2 separate regions of the Homo sapiens genome follow, and region 1 is linked to region 2. The links are contacts of gene promoters, found by promoter capture Hi-C in blood cells and fetal thymus (Javierre and others, 2016). All regions are on one chromosome and are shown on one strand. The core of a region is centred on a gene start or on the middle of the fragment in contact, and the rest is flanking DNA. Distances in the headings are between cores, read along the strand shown.

What was found. Contacts are between HindIII fragments. The CHiCAGO score rates a contact against its expected background, and 5 or more counts as called.
Region 1: a fragment that was not itself captured here is called in contact with the fragment with the promoter of MOGAT1 in region 2 in 1 of 17 cell types (monocytes); the score reaches 6.1 in monocytes.

What each region holds. Positions count from the first base shown.
Region 1 is chr2:223,462,959-223,465,830 of GRCh38, forward strand. No RefSeq gene overlaps it. Among named protein-coding and RNA genes, the nearest start is that of SCG2, 140 kb to the right of the region's middle. The HindIII fragment of the contact is 1,901 bases long and covers 486-2,386 here.
Region 2 is chr2:222,669,960-222,672,995 of GRCh38, forward strand. MOGAT1 (monoacylglycerol O-acyltransferase 1) reads left to right here and starts at 1,699. Exons shown (of 6, transcript NM_058165.3): 1 at 1,699-1,920. The coding sequence starts at 1,827. LOC124907985 (a long non-coding RNA gene) reads left to right here. Exons shown (of 2, transcript XR_007088095.1): 2 at 677-1,043. The HindIII fragment of the contact is 3,409 bases long and covers 1-2,885 here.

The DNA.
Region 1 (2,872 bases), core at 186-2,685, 790 kb after region 2:
CCTGAAACTGGAACTTATATTTAAAAGAAAAGAAGAGCATAAAAGATTGGAAAATTTGCAGCCTGGCCATGTGATAGCAAAGAAAATGCCATTTTCAAGGGAGCAGTTCAAGCAGGCTGCAGAAATTTTCATAAGTAAAAGAGGAGCCAAGTGCTAATAGACAATGGGGAGAAGGCCTTGAAGACATTTCAGAGACCTTCTAGGCAGCCCCTCCCACCACAGGCTAAGAAACCTAGGAGGAAAGTTTGGTTTAGTGGGCCAGGCCCAGGGCCCTACTGCCCTGCACAGCTTTGGGACACTGCTCCCTGCATCCCAGCTACTTCAGCTCCAGCTGGAGTTAAAAGGGGCCCAGGTACAGCTCGTGCCACTGCTTCAGAGGGTGAAAGCCATAGGCCTTGGCAGCTTCCACGTGGTAGTAAGCCTTTGGGCATGCAGAGTGTCATAGCTGAGGCTTGGAAGCCTAGATTTCTGAAGATGTATGAAAAAGCTTGGATGTCCAGGCCGAAGCCCTTATGGAGGACCTCTACTAGGGCAGCACAGAGGGGAAATGAGGGGTTGGAGCCCCCATACAGAGTCTCCAATGGGGCACTGCCATTTGGAGCTGTGAAAAGAGGGCCACCATCCTCCAGACCCCACAACGGGGTCTGTCACAATCTACTGACAGCTTGCCCCCTGCACCTGGACAAGCCTCAGGCACTCAACACCAGCCCTTGCGATTAACCACAGGAGCTGAATCCTGCAAAGCCTCATGGACAGAGATGCCCAAGACCTTGGGAGCCCACCCCTTACACCAGTGTGCCCTGTATGTGAGATATGGAGTCAAGGGAGACTATTGTGGAGCTTTGAGATATAATAATGGCCCTGCTGGGTTTCAGGCTTGCATGGGGCCTGTAGCCACTTTCTTTTGGTGAATTTCTCCCTTTTGGAATGGGATTATTTCTTAATGCCTGTACTCCCATTATGTCTTGGGAGTAACTAACTTGTTTTTGGTTTTACAGGCTCATAGGTGGAACAGACTTGCCTTGTCTCAGATGAGACTTTTGAGTTTGGATTTTTATGTTAATGATGGAATGAGTTAAGACTTTGGGGGACTGTTGGGAAGGCATAATTGTATTTCACAATGAGAGGGACATGAGATTTTAGAGTTGGGGGGCAGAGATAGAATTATATGGTTCGGATCTGTTTCCTTACCAGATTTCATGTGTAATTGTAATCTCCAGTGTTGGAGGTGGTCCTGGTGGGAGGTGACTGGATCATGGGGTTAGAGTTCTCATGAATGGTTTGGCACCGTCCCTCCTTGGTACTGTATAGTGAGTCAGTTCTCACAAGAGCTGGTTGTCTAAAAATGTGCAGCACCTCCCCCACCCTCTCTCTCTTCCTTCTGCTCCAGCCATGTGAAGTGCTGGCTTCTCCTTCACCTTCTGTTGTGATGGTAAGTTTCATGAGGCCTCCTCAGAAGCTGAGCAGATGCCAGCACCATGCTTCCTGTACAGCCTATATCACCATGAGCCAGTTAAACCTCTTTTCTTTATAAATTACCCAATCTCAGGTATTTCTTCATAGCAATGTGGGACCAGACTAATACACCTCTCTAGGAGATAAACATGAGAGAACTTGAGGCCAGAGGATAAAGAAGAGAAAAGCATATGGAATCCTGGGCCTTTACCCCACCTATAGGAAATTGCATAGCTTTTGGGAGGGGATTATATCCATTCTCCCTGCAAACTAAAAGAGAGTGTATTAGTTTACCATTCCTGCTGTAACAACCAACCACAAAATTAGTGGCTTAAAACAATGCAAATGTATTACCTTACAGTTCTGGAGGTCAGAAGTCTAAGATGGGTCCACTGGGTTGAAATCAAGGTGTTGGCAGAGCTGCATTGCATTCTGGAGGCTCTAGGGGAATATCTATTTACTTGCCTTTTCCAGCTTCTACAAGCTGCCCACATTCCCTGGTCCATGGGCCCTTTCTTCACCTTCAGAACCTGCAACAGCCAGTCAAGTCTTTCTCACATTCCACTGCTCTGACACTAGTTACCCTGCCTCCCTCTTCCACATTTAAGGACCTTTGTGATTACACTAGGTCTGCCAGATAATCCAGGATACTCTCCTTATTTTAAGGTCAGCTGAGTAGCAACCTTAATTCCTACTTACCACGTGATATAACATATTCAAAGGTTCTGTAGATTAGGATATGGATGTCTTTGTAAGGAGGAAGGAAAGAATTATTCTCTCTACCACAGAAAAGCTGGAAGAAACAGCTCTCCATTCATAAGTATCCATTCATAAATATCCATTCATAAGTATCTGGAGTGCCATTCTTTATCCATTCATCAATATTTGCAGTGCCTATAGAAGGGGTAGCATCAGTTTCAAATTGGACATAAGCTTAGGCTACTCAGACCCATTGTCTGTCCTACCAGAGGATAAGAAAATTAGAGATCAATGGCAAGCTGGAGAAAGGGAGCAGCCTGAACCTTTTCTGTGGATTAACCAGAACTGCTAATATGGTTTGGCTGTGTCCCGACCCAAACCTCACCTTGAATTGTAATAATCCCCACATAACAAGGGCAGGGCCAGGTGAAGATAATCGAATCATGGGAGCAGTCTCCCCCCTACTGTTCTCGTGGTAGGGAATAAGTCTCATGAGATCTGATGGTTTTATAAATGGAGGTTCCCCTGCACAAGCCTTCTTGCCTGCTGTCATGTAAGATGTGCCTTTGCTCCTCATTCGCCTTCCACCATGATTGTGAGGCCTCCCCGGCCATGTGGAACTGTGAGTCAATTAAACCTCTTTCCTTTATAAATTAGTCAGTCTTGGGTATGTCTGTATTAGCAGTGTGAGAACAGACTAATACAACTGCAGAAGACA
Region 2 (3,036 bases), core at 449-2,948:
GAAGGAGAAAAGGGCATAGGATGGGGGAGAAAGGAGGGCCAACTATATTGTTTTGCCCTGTTCCAAGTCCTCTTCAGCAATGACTTGACAGCTGCTCATCATTTTGAGTTTTTCAACTATGTGGTAATTAATATTTATAAATAAAGTGCAGTGGTTGCTCCCAAGGACTAGGCACTATTTAGAATCTAGCCATCCATTTAGCACATCGTAATTGAAACCCTTCAGTGTCTTGTACTGCTCTTGGGGTTCAAACTTGAACCCTAACTCAGTCTGCAAGGGTCTGGACCTTGCCCACCATTTTTGCCTGATGTCACCCCAATCTCACCCTTGTCCCCCAAGCTCTCACTCTTTGAGCTCTTCTTGGAGTTCAGCCACAGGACCTTTGCATATGTGCTTCCCTTTGCCCGGATGACTCCTGGGTTAACTAGATTTGGCTACAGCTCAAGTAAGGGCACTTCTTCAGACACTTCCCTGACCGTGCAGCAGTCTTGGTTTTGGAATCTTCTAGTCATTCACAGTAGGGTCTTACTTGTAATTATACACCAAATTGTGTAGTTGTTTTGCTTATGTCTGTTTCCCCCTGTACTCTGAGAACAAGACAATGAATAGCTTGTGTCAGGCCTCTGAGCCAAAGCTCAGCCATTATAACCTCTGTGACCTGCATGTACACATCCAGGTGGCCTGCAGGAGCCAAGAAGCCTGGAGCAGCCAAAAAAAACGCAAAGAAGTAAAACAGCCAGTTCCTGCCTTAACTGATTAACCAACATTACAACATTTTACCATTGTGACTTGTCCCTGCCCTACCTTAGCCGATCAATCGACTTTGTGACATTCTTCTTCTGGACAATGAGTCTTATGATCTCCCCACCCTGTACCTTGTGACCCCTTCCTCTGCTAACAATAGATAACCACCTTCTACTGTAATTTTCCATTACCTAGACAACTCCTATAAAGCAACCCCTTCCCCATCTCCCTTCGCTGACTCTTTTTCGGACTCAGCTGACTTGCACCTAAGTGAATAAACAGCCTTGTTGCTCACACAATGCCTGTTGGTGGTCTCTTCACACGGATGCGCTTGACAGCTTGGTTATCCAAGCGCCCGGATGGTGCTCAGCAAGTGGCAAGTGCTCAATAAATGTGGGTTGAATGAATGAATGGGTGAAAGATTCCCGGAGCTCCTGTAGGGAACTGAGGACCCAAGAGTGAGGAAGCCAGGTCCCCTTCCCCATCCGCGGGGAAATTGGAGGTTGCGGGGGGACACAGATCAATAAACTAAGAAACAAGTCTCGCTCATCTCTCCAGCTGGTGTGCGATTCCTCAAACTAACCCTTCCCCAATCACCGAGGGTTCGAATGAAGGGGTGGGATGCTGAAGGCAAGCGCTGGGTGATCGATCAGCTGAACAATGGTCAGATCCTGGTGGAGATCCCAGGTCCTCAGCCAGGCGGCAGGAGCCCGCGCTGCCCGGCTCGGGCTGGCTGCCAGTTGACCCCTCTCCCCGTCCCTCGTGTCCCACGCGGCGCACTCTCGCCAACGCCCGGCGCGCCAGCCAATGCGCCCGGGCCGCTGTAGCTGCTCCGGGGCCAGGGCGCTGGGCCAGCTCTGGCGCCCGGCGCTTGTGATTGGCTGCCCCCAGCCTCAGCCCAGCGCGCCCTCCCACCCAGGGCGCAGTTGGGTCCCCGCTCGCTGCCTAGCCTCTGCCTTTTCCTCTCCGCCCAGCCAGTGCCCAGCGCGGGGCCCGGATCCGGCCGGGCACTTCCCACAGGCGCCGCAGAGCAGCGTGGGTGCAGGCTGCAGTGGCTGGCGCCGTCCTCGCCCGGCCAGGCCATGAAGGTAGAGTTTGCACCGCTCAACATCCAGCTGGCGCGGCGGCTGCAGACGGTGGCCGTGCTGCAGTGGGTCCTGAAATACCTGCTGCTCGGTAAGGACCCCGCCCCCCGGGCCGCGGGGCTTGGGCTCCATATCCTCCCTCGGGACGGTCCGGATTCCAGGACCTGCATAGAACCTTCCAACCCTCGTTCCCCTGTCGGCCAGAGCAGGCAGGTCAAAGAGGGCATTTGGAGCTAACGTGGACTCTGGTTTCCTCACGAGAACCTCATCGCTAACGACTGTTTAATTTTATTTTCTCCTGCGTTACTTTTTTAAATTGAGGTGCACCTTGCCTACAATAAAAGGCGCAGTTATACGGATACAGCTCGATGACTTTTGGCGACTGTATCTACCAAAATGTAACCATGACCCCATCGAACGCATGAGCACTTTAACCCCTCAAAAGTTGGCAAACTCGTTTCTCGAACTGTTGATTCATAGATGGCAAAGTAATGCCTCAGTAGTTAAAACCTTGTTCCTTCTCCCTCTTTGTCTCCCCACCCTCCTGACAAAGAGCAGTGTTCCCTTTCCCGTTTTGGAGATTTCCTGGATGCATAGCAGTACCTTTCTGTAAAGAAGGCTGCACCACTCATTGCATTTGGTTGAGCGGTTTCTCTCTGGAAATAGTTTGACTCAGTAGCGTGTGTGTTCCAGTTGGTTCCCAAGTTGAGCCCATGAAACATACACGAGCCGAATCATTAGATGGGGCAAAAACGTGGGTGGTTTTTCTTTTTGTTTTTTGTTTTTTCCTTCATATTTGTTCTGCTCTTGAAGTAAATAGGGGTGATGTGGGAGGAGGGAGGAATTTGGGGGAGACCCTTCTATTGAAACATAAACTCTTCTGAAGACTAAGATCATGTGTATGCTGTAAGATCATGGATTGTACAGCGTTGGGGTGGTAATAATAGTAATAAGCCCATTGCATTGGAGAGTTTTACACTTTTAAAACTGCTTTTACATTTCGAAAGCCTGAATCAGTGGTTCTCAACCCTGGCTCTAGATGAGAATCACTGGAGAAGCTTCTAAAAAGTGCAGATGCCCAGGCTCCATCCTGGAATTTGTTTATTATTATTATTATTATTATTATTATTATTATTATCTTTGAGACGGAGTTTCACTCTTGTTGCCCACGCTGGAGTGCAGTGGCGCCATCTCGGCTCACCACAAC